2 separate regions of the Homo sapiens genome follow, and region 1 is linked to region 2. Evidence: promoter capture Hi-C in human tissues and cell types (Jung and others, 2019). All regions are on one chromosome and are shown on one strand. The core of a region is centred on a gene start or on the middle of the fragment in contact, and the rest is flanking DNA. Distances in the headings are between cores, read along the strand shown. Region 1 overlaps CA14 (carbonic anhydrase 14). Region 2 holds the start of TMOD4 (tropomodulin 4).

Evidence for each region. The method cuts DNA at HindIII sites, captures the fragments that hold promoters and counts their contacts. A contact is called where the count stands out against the background at its distance.
Region 1: a fragment that was not itself captured here is called in contact with the fragment with the promoter of TMOD4 in region 2 in 1 of the 25 tissues and cell types used here (spleen).

The regions. Positions count from the first base shown.
Region 1 is chr1:150,262,235-150,267,313 of GRCh38, reverse strand. It overlaps CA14 (carbonic anhydrase 14), which reads right to left. Exons shown (of 11, transcript NM_012113.3): 4 at 5,014-5,079; 5 at 4,694-4,789; 6 at 4,444-4,510; 7 at 4,115-4,272; 8 at 3,895-4,015; 9 at 3,635-3,655; 10 at 3,436-3,520; 11 at 2,236-2,721. The coding sequence ends at 2,655. It overlaps APH1A (aph-1A gamma-secretase subunit), which reads left to right. Exons shown (of 7, transcript NM_001077628.3): 5 at 112-239; 6 at 658-781; 7 at 1,120-1,910. The coding sequence ends at 1,184. Among named protein-coding and RNA genes, the nearest start is that of SNORD13C, 3.1 kb to the right of the region's middle. The HindIII fragment of the contact is 1,504 bases long and covers 1,530-3,033 here.
Region 2 is chr1:151,174,435-151,179,182 of GRCh38, reverse strand. It overlaps TMOD4 (tropomodulin 4), which reads left to right and starts at 3,202. Exons shown (of 10, transcript NM_013353.3): 1 at 3,202-3,259; 2 at 4,266-4,430; 3 at 4,636-4,748. The coding sequence starts at 4,308. It overlaps VPS72 (vacuolar protein sorting 72 homolog), which reads left to right. Exons shown (of 6, transcript NM_005997.3): 5 at 1,038-1,182; 6 at 2,152-2,879. The coding sequence ends at 2,539. The HindIII fragment of the contact is 10,118 bases long and covers 1-4,748 here.

The DNA.
Region 1 (5,079 bases), core at 1,032-3,531, 910 kb after region 2:
TTGTCCCTGATCTGATTTATTGGCCTTCCCTGAGAGACTTCTTTGGCTCAACATCTCAGGAGCCTGGGAGAAGATCAGGGATGTATCTCCTCCCCATCTCCCTCCCTGCAGCCTTTCTGACAGCAGCCATTATCCTGCTCCATACCTTTTGGGGAGTTGTGTTCTTTGATGCCTGTGAGAGGAGACGGTACTGGGCTTTGGGCCTGGTGGTTGGGAGTCACCTACTGACATCGGGACTGGTGAGTTGGAGACAGGGGCCTGAGTTAGGGAGAAAAGCATTTAATGGTGAGTGGGATGTGGGGGAAAGGGTATCCTCACTTCTTAACATTTTTAACTTACCTGGGAGGAGGAGGAAAGGTGAGTCTTTCAAGGTCTCTCACCTCAGCATCATTTCTATCACCTGCTCTGGGGAGGAGGTTGAAAGGATTAGTCAAACTGTAATGCAGAGGGCCTGAGGTGAGCAGGAGCGGCAGAAACCTTTGAGTTTCTGAGGAGCTGAAAATCAAAAGTCCCCTTAACCACAAGATGTTGGTGCTCTGAAGGGAAAGACTGGAGAATTTGAGAGAGATATCTGGGAGTCAGAAAGGTACAGAGAGAATATGGGGATTAGGTCGAGGGAGAATCTAATCTCTTTCCTACTCTTACCCTCCTTCCTAGACATTCCTGAACCCCTGGTATGAGGCCAGCCTGCTGCCCATCTATGCAGTCACTGTTTCCATGGGGCTCTGGGCCTTCATCACAGCTGGAGGGTCCCTCCGAAGTATTCAGCGCAGCCTCTTGTGTAAGGACTGACTACCTGGACTGATCGCCTGACAGATCCCACCTGCCTGTCCACTGCCCATGACTGAGCCCAGCCCCAGCCCGGGTCCATTGCCCACATTCTCTGTCTCCTTCTCGTCGGTCTACCCCACTACCTCCAGGGTTTTGCTTTGTCCTTTTGTGACCGTTAGTCTCTAAGCTTTACCAGGAGCAGCCTGGGTTCAGCCAGTCAGTGACTGGTGGGTTTGAATCTGCACTTATCCCCACCACCTGGGGACCCCCTTGTTGTGTCCAGGACTCCCCCTGTGTCAGTGCTCTGCTCTCACCCTGCCCAAGACTCACCTCCCTTCCCCTCTGCAGGCCGACGGCAGGAGGACAGTCGGGTGATGGTGTATTCTGCCCTGCGCATCCCACCCGAGGACTGAGGGAACCTAGGGGGGACCCCTGGGCCTGGGGTGCCCTCCTGATGTCCTCGCCCTGTATTTCTCCATCTCCAGTTCTGGACAGTGCAGGTTGCCAAGAAAAGGGACCTAGTTTAGCCATTGCCCTGGAGATGAAATTAATGGAGGCTCAAGGATAGATGAGCTCTGAGTTTCTCAGTACTCCCTCAAGACTGGACATCTTGGTCTTTTTCTCAGGCCTGAGGGGGAACCATTTTTGGTGTGATAAATACCCTAAACTGCCTTTTTTTCTTTTTTGAGGTGGGGGGAGGGAGGAGGTATATTGGAACTCTTCTAACCTCCTTGGGCTATATTTTCTCTCCTCGAGTTGCTCCTCATGGCTGGGCTCATTTCGGTCCCTTTCTCCTTGGTCCCAGACCTTGGGGGAAAGGAAGGAAGTGCATGTTTGGGAACTGGCATTACTGGAACTAATGGTTTTAACCTCCTTAACCACCAGCATCCCTCCTCTCCCCAAGGTGAAGTGGAGGGTGCTGTGGTGAGCTGGCCACTCCAGAGCTGCAGTGCCACTGGAGGAGTCAGACTACCATGACATCGTAGGGAAGGAGGGGAGATTTTTTTGTAGTTTTTAATTGGGGTGTGGGAGGGGCGGGGAGGTTTTCTATAAACTGTATCATTTTCTGCTGAGGGTGGAGTGTCCCATCCTTTTAATCAAGGTGATTGTGATTTTGACTAATAAAAAAGAATTTGTAATTGTGGGGGAACTTGGCTTTTAAGGGAGGGGATAGCATGTTAATTGAGATTTCTGTCCTCAGATCTCTCATCCAGCCACTTTCCTAACCTGGCAACCACTGATTTCCAAGCATAGCCTTGGTGCAAGGGCAGAAATCTGGGCTAGTGGTTTAACATGTCTGAAACTTTGGGTTAAGTGTCTTCCCAGAAGCTTATCTTTCCTTCCAGGGGTGGGATAAAAGGAGTTAATCACCCATGCTTCTTTTCCCCATCCTTTGCCCATCTTTACCACCTGAGGGATTCAGGAACTTGCCCACCCTCAAGAGCCTCAAAGGATAGGCCAGAATTAAAGTCAGAAACTTTAATTTCCAAATATATTGATCAAAAATATACAACTTCAACAGCAACTCTTTATCCTAAGGAGAGATCCCGCAGTATATCTAGGGAAAGGGCCATAAAAGTGAGGGGGTAGAGGACTTTGGGGTATATCCCAAACTTCCCCTGCAACTAAACAGAGTTTGTTCTCTGCATTAACAACACAGCGATTTCCTCATTTCCTCCTACATGTTTGGAGAGGCTGAAGGCTCTGCAGTTCTTCCTGGAATGACAGCCTGGGTCCATTCCTCTCTAGGAGATGTCCAGGGGAAGGAGGACATCTGCTTACTACTCCTACAGTGTTTCTGGCCAGATCCTACACCCCATTTTAGAGGCTTCCTGATAGGCATGAAGGGAAGTCATCCACATCCATGGTATCTGAGAAGGAATTTATGCCTCAGTCGTGGCTTGTGCTGAGGTGAAGACCACACTCTTTCGGTTTTCCAGCCTCTTCTTCCTGGAAAGGGGAATGGCTCATGAGAATGACTGCTATCTAAGTGAAGCAGATTAGAGGTGAAATAGGAGAATGCTTTTTAACAGAAAAGAGGGCTGGGCAAGGTGTTTCACACCTATAATCCCAGCACTTTGGGAGGCTGAGGCGGGCGGATCACTTGAGGTCAGGAGTTGGAGACCAGCCTGGGCAATGTAGTGAAAACCCGTCTCTGCTAAAAATACAAAAATTATCTGGGCATGGTGGCACATGCCTGTAGTCCCACCTACTCAGGAGGCTGAGGTGGGAGGACCACTTGAGCCCGGGAGGTGGAGGTTGCAGTGAGCTGTGATAAAGCCATGCACTCCAGCCTCGACAACAGTGAGAACCTGTCTCAAAAAGCGGGTGGCTCATGCCTATAATCCCAGTACTTTGGGAGGCTGAGGCAGGCGAATTGCCTGAGGTCAGGAGTTTGAGACCAGCCTGGCCAATATGGTGAAACCTTGTCTCTACTAAAAGTACAAAAATTAGCTGGGTGTGATGGTGCGTGCCTGTAGTCCCAGCTACTCGGGAGGCTGAGGCAGGAGAATTGCTTGAACCCAGAAGGCAGAGGTTGCAGTGAGCTGAGATTGCACACCACTGCACTCCAGACTGAGTAACAGAGCAAGACTCCGTCTCCCACCTACCAAAAAAAAAAAAAAAAAGAAGAAGGGACTGGAGGAATGGAAAGTAGGGCCTCACCGAATCTTTCTAGCAATGAAATAAACAGCCAGGAGAAGGCAGAGACAGCCAACCAAGATTCCTACACCTAGACTCAGCATTTCACCTGGGGGAGATAAAGGTAAAAGGTGTCAGCCTAGGACTAACATAGATTTTGAGCCTTTCCCCCACTCGGTGAGGACACCTCCCCTCCCCGCATTATCTTATAAGGCTGGCTTACCTGTGGTATACGAGGATCCTGCTGTAAGAGAAGAAAATGGGTCAGTGGGACTTCAGATCCCCATCCCAGCTGGGAGCAGCACTCTCTGCTGCTGTGCCTGGGAGAATCCCCCGGGGGCACCCTGGGGTGGGGGTTGGTTCCCAGTCCAAGCAAGTCCCAGAAACCCCCTCCCCTTTTAGCCTTTTCTTCCCATTGGCTCCCTAGTTCCTGCCATTGTGTCCCCCTCAGTTTCCCATCTCTTCTGAGCCGTGCAGAATCACCTTGGATGAAAGAAGCAAAGACCATGCGCTGATTGAGAGGCTGAAGGGCTCGGTAGTTCTGTACCAGAAGCTTAGAGGGCTCCTCTTCTGTGGAGAACAATGTCCCCTGAAGCTTTTCCAGCTGAGGAGCAGAAGCGTGGGAGAGGTGTTACTTTGGGGAGTGGGAAGGGGTCTGAAGTTACAACTGTGTCTCACCTCACCTCGTTTCTCCACCACTTACCTGTTCCATTGAAATCTGGGACCTTCTATAAAAAACTGTCCAGAGCACACTCTGGTAGCAAGGGGGAGTTGTGAGCGAGCCATTGTAGCGGAAGTACTGCCCCAGCTGTTTGGGGAGCAGCTCTCTTAGGTTGAAGGGAGGCACTGAGGTCTTCTGATCTGGGGAGAACAGACTGGGACTCATCTTCCTTTCAGTGTGCCCTAGCTTACCTAGATAGGGCTCCCAGAAGCAAAATTCCTTGGCTCTATGTAATTGCTTCATCCCAAGGCTTTTAAGGATAGTTTTTGAAAGTCTAATCTTACTTCCTGCTATAGATTTTTAAGGCTCACCTTTATGCCTGACTTCATGCAAGTGACTCAGAATGTGTTCATAAGCTATATTCTTAGTCTCACCCACCTGGAAGAGAAGGAAAGGGAGAGAGTTTGGAATGAGTCCATGTTTGGAATAAGAAATTTATGTACAGAATAAATGGTCAGGGTGGGCTGCTGCCTGCCATAGGAAGGAGGCCAGCAACAGAAATAGGTTTGAGGGTTGCAGAGGAAGTGGAGAGAAACCTGGAAGGGACTGGGGGCTACTGACCTCAATTAGGATGCCCAGGACAGCCAGGCCCTGAGGCCTCTCAGCAGCCTCACTCAAGCTGTCATAGGAATCAGAGTCATAATGTACAATGTGGAGCTAAAGGAAGGAAGAGGGAATTGAATCATGGAATGTCTGCACCCCCTTCAAGGCCTTGATCCTAGCTGCCACCATCCCCCCGCTGTCCCCGGCAGGCACTAAGTCTGTCCCTCAGAGATTGGCCTTATCCCCCCAGCATGACTTTTCCTAAGGTCCAGATCCTTTCCCCAGGACCACCCATCCCTGTTACTTTGTCTGAGTCCCAGCTCTTTGTTCCCTGGTACCTCTGCAAATGTGGCTTCACTGTTGATCTGGTGTTCTGACCCCCCTGGGGATCCTTTCTGACCCCA
Region 2 (4,748 bases), core at 1,953-4,452:
AGCCTCCCAAGTAGCTGGGATTATAGTCATGTGCTACCACGCCCGGATAGTTTTTGTATTTTTAGTAGAGACGGGGTTTCACCATGTTGGTCAGGCTGGTCTTGAACTCCTTTCCTTAGGTGATCCACCCACCTCGGCCTCCCAAAGTGCTGGGATTACAGGCATGAGCCACTGTGCCCAGCCTTGATTCATTTATTCATTAACAAATATTTAATGAGTGCCTGTAATGTGGAAAATGCTGTATCACCCTGATAATATTTAGGCAATATGAGTTATAGTCACTGCCCTTAAGGAGGAGACATATATACCAATAGTGCATCGCCATGGAGCAGTATCACGGAGACCAGGCAGGTAACATGAAGTGTGCAGCCAGCCAGAGGGATGGTGGTGAACTGGAGAGGAGTGCCTGAAAGGAGGAACAGTTACTCAGCTCAGCTAATTGTTCCCCTGTAAGAATGCAGACCCAGGGTTGCGAGATTTTCTTGTTGTTTAAGAGCGACCAGAAATCTCTATATTTAAATATAATTTCCTACCTTACTAATTTTTTTTTTGGAGATATGATCTCACTCTGCTGCCTAGGCTGGAGTGCAATGTGGTGCCATCTCAGCTCACTGCAACCTCCACCTCCCTGGCTCAAGCGATCCTTCCACCTCAGCTTCCCAAGTAGCTGGGATTACAGGCGTGTGCCAGCACACCCAGCTGTAGGAGTGAATTGACAGGGCATTTGTAGAGGAGATTTTGGTATCTGGGAAAGCAAATAAGCTCCTCATCAAAGGGTACCTTCCAACTCTGAGGTACTATAGAGGGCCCAGGTGTACTTGAGAAATGAGCAGAGAGGATGTCAAGAAAAAACTTATAAGCAGAAAACTTACAAAATGGGAGGTGCCAGACGGCCTTAGGGGACTTCCATAGTTGTCTCTGGTAGTTGGCAGTGACTAGATAGCCAGGAAGATAATTGAGAGATCGTGGGACAGTACTGGGATATGGGAAAAAGGGACATTCTGATCATCCCCTCATTTCTTCCTTTGACCCTAAAGAGACATATGAGCGGCTCGAGGCTGATAAAAAGAAGCAGGTTCATAAGAAGCGGAAGTGCCCCGGGCCCATAATCACCTATCATTCAGTGACAGTGCCACTTGTTGGGGAGCCAGGCCCCAAGGAAGAGAACGTTGACATAGAAGGGTGAGTGAATCTCAAGAGGAAAAGAGATTGTGTGTTCAGCTCATGTTCTCTTGGCCCCATTTTGCTTGCTTTTCTCACACAGCTCTCCTTAACACTTGGAGATTTCTTTCAGATTCCTAACTCCCTTCAGCTCAATTTCTTTTTCTTTTTTTTTTTTTGAGACATGATGCTGCTCTGTCACCTAGGCTGGAATGCAGTGGTGCAGTCTCGGCTCACTGCAACCTCCACCTCCTGTGCTCAGGCGATCCTCCCACCTTAGCCTCCCAAGTAGCTGGGAGTACAGCCACACATGCTAATTTTTGTATTTTTTGTAGAGACGGTTTCGCTGTGTTGCCCAGACTCCTGGGTTAAAGTAATCGTCCCGCTTCATCTTCCTAAAATACTGGGATTACAGGTGTGAGCCACCGCGCCCAGCCCAGCTTATTTCTTTCTTATTCCTTTTTCTTTTAGCTTCTCTGTTCTTCTCTTTCCTGTTTTTCCTTCTAGCCTAGCTTTCTTTTCCCATCAGTCACTTAGTACGTTCCTCAGAATGTTCCCAACACCCTGCCTCCTTTTTCTCTTTCCTCATCTCTCTGATTTCCTTCTTTCTTTCTTTTCTTTTTTTTTTTTTTTTGAGATGGAGTCTCGCTGCTCTGTCACCCAGGCTGGAGTGTAATGGCACGATCTTGGTTCCATGCAACCTCCGCCTCCTGGCTTCAAGTGATTCTCCTGCCTCAACCTCCTGAGTAGCTGTGATTACAGGCATCCGCCACCACGCCCGGCTAATTTTTGTATTTTTAGTAGAGACAGGGTTTCACCTTGTTAGTCAGGCTGGTCTCGAACTCCTGACCTCGTCATCTGCCTGCCTCAGCCTCCCAAAGTGCTGGAATTACAGGTGTGAGCCACTGCACCCAGCCTGATTTCCTTCTTTCTGTATCTGTTGTCTTCTCTCCTCAGCTCTTTGTGTTTTTCCTTGTCTTTTGTCCTCAGACTTGATCCTGCTCCCTCGGTGTCTGCATTGACTCCTCATGCTGGGACTGGACCCGTCAACCCCCCTGCTCGCTGCTCACGTACCTTCATCACTTTTAGTGATGATGCAACTTTCGAGGAATGGTTCCCCCAAGGGCGGCCCCCAAAAGTCCCTGTTCGTGAGGTCTGTCCAGTGACCCATCGTCCAGCCCTATACCGGGACCCTGTTACAGACATACCCTATGCCACTGCTCGAGCCTTCAAGATCATTCGTGAGGCTTACAAGAAGTACATTACTGCCCATGGACTGCCGCCCACTGCCTCAGCCCTGGGCCCCGGCCCGCCACCTCCTGAGCCCCTCCCTGGCTCTGGGCCCCGAGCCTTGCGCCAGAAAATTGTCATTAAATGAAGAGATGTCTAGTCCTCAGAAACTTCTTTCCTGCCCTGATTGGGGCTCTTGCTGTTCCGTTTCTTCTCCCTGCTTCTCCCCTTTGTCATCTCTGATCTTTGCCTAATCTGTTTCTTTTTCCTTTTCCCCTAGTTCTTACAGGTTTCGTTGTGTTTTTTAATCTAATAAAATAGAAAGATCCCTTTTGTCTGGTGTCCAGTCTAGGGTTGGGAGCAAGAAGTATTTGAATACCTGCATATATTTGGGTCTTTATTCGATAGCATTTATTATGAGCTGTCCTTTCTAAATTGTATTCATTCCTCCAACTAAATTATAAACATCTGAAAATTGCACACCAAAACACATCCTTGTATTGACCTTCCTATCACTTTACACTCACTGTTTTGAATACAGCAGGCACCAAATAAGGAGGAACTGGCTGATTCTAGTCGAACTCATATGTCTCAGACTGGGGCTTGTATGAAGGGAAGTGGAAGAGATGCCATGGCTGTTAATGACCACTAGAGGCTCTCAGGGCTGGGCAGGGTATGGGGGCTGTGTATATGTGATCTCCCACTACCCCCCACCTGGCCAGAGCTAAAATAATAAAATGCTGAGCTCACTGTTCCCCCACCCTCTCCCCCGGCACCGGGCTCCTCCTGCTGCTGGGACAGTGCTCTAGTAGAACAGACAGACCTACTGACACAGGGGAGGTGAGAAGGGAGGTGACCACCAGGACTGGTAGGTGGGGAAGACAGGGGGCTTATGGATGAGAGCCCGGTGGGAGATGGGAGGAGAAGAGTGGCTCCTATGGGGAATGATGTGGAGTGTGTCCCTGTCTCTGTCACTCAGTGTATATTTCTGCCACTGTGCCGTCCTACCCCTTAACTGTGTATAGTTTACATTGTCGATGTGTCTCACATACTTTCTGGATCTTTCATATTCAGCATGGTGTGTATGCATAGCTCCTTATGCGTATCTTATATTGTACAAAATTGTGCGAGTTTAATATTCCCACTGTTTTTAAAGAAACTTTACCCTATTTACACCCATTGGTCTGGTGTCACCTTCCTGTCCAAAGCAAGGGACAGATTATGGGGACTCACAGAGGCCTTACTACCCTTCCCCCAACCTGGAAGTCCCCCAACTGCTCCGAGCCCTTGCTTTCCCTTAAGACTTCAAATTTTAGCAAACACAGAAAGTGAAATCTTGATCCCCCACAATAAAAGGGAAATGAGGATGGGGTAAGAGACTCTCTCTTCCCCTTACACCTCATTGTCCTTGGTTTTTTTATCCGGTTTAGGAAAAAGCCTGGATTATGAGGAGGAGAGGAGGAATTTCCCTGAAGCTCTCTATTCCCCCACCCCTCATCCCCTTTCAATAGGAACTGGGCATAGGACCAGCTGTGTTGGCAGGGCTTCCAGCAGCTGTGTTAGGGCGAAGGCACTGACAAGTGAGGTTATAGGGGAGGGGTGCTGCCAGGATTTCTCTGTCATACCGTGGGAAGACAAACCCAGCTTAGATGTCTGGGATCCCCATCCAGAGTGGCTGGAAGCTGGGGAAGCAGAAAGGAGACTCTAGTTCTAACTCTAAACAACCTAATCTTCCCCACTTCCCATCCTCAACTAGACTTCTAATCTCCAAGAAATCCAATCCAATGTTCTGCCCCCCTGGCTGGTCTCTTTGTGTCCCTGCTGTGTCCCTGTCCATCTTACCATTGTCCATCCTTTTGTCCCATGTTGCCCAGGCTCTGTGAGTACCACACAGTGGGGAGGGGGTGGGGGCCACCATGTCATCATATCAGAAGGAACTGGAGAAATACAGAGACATAGATGAAGATGAGATCCTAAGGACCTTGAGCCCCGAGGAGCTAGAGCAGCTGGACTGCGAACTACAGGAGATGGATCCTGAGGTAGGGGCTCCAGCACAGGGAACCAGAGGCAGTCCCAGGCATTTGGGAAGGGTGTTGGGCTCTGGGTGGCTGAGAATAGGGTTTGCTACAGGACCTAGGGTCCTAAGAAGGCCAGGGGAAAGGTGTCCGGTGATGTTTTAGGGAGCCCTAGCAGTACCTAGGTCAGAGGGGAGGTCTGACTTGCTCCCCAAAACTCATCCCTAAGAACATGCTCCTGCCAGCTGGACTAAGACAACGTGACCAGACAAAGAAGAGCCCAACGGGGCCACTGGACCGAGAGGCCCTTTTGCAGTACTTGGAGCAACAGGCACTAGAAGT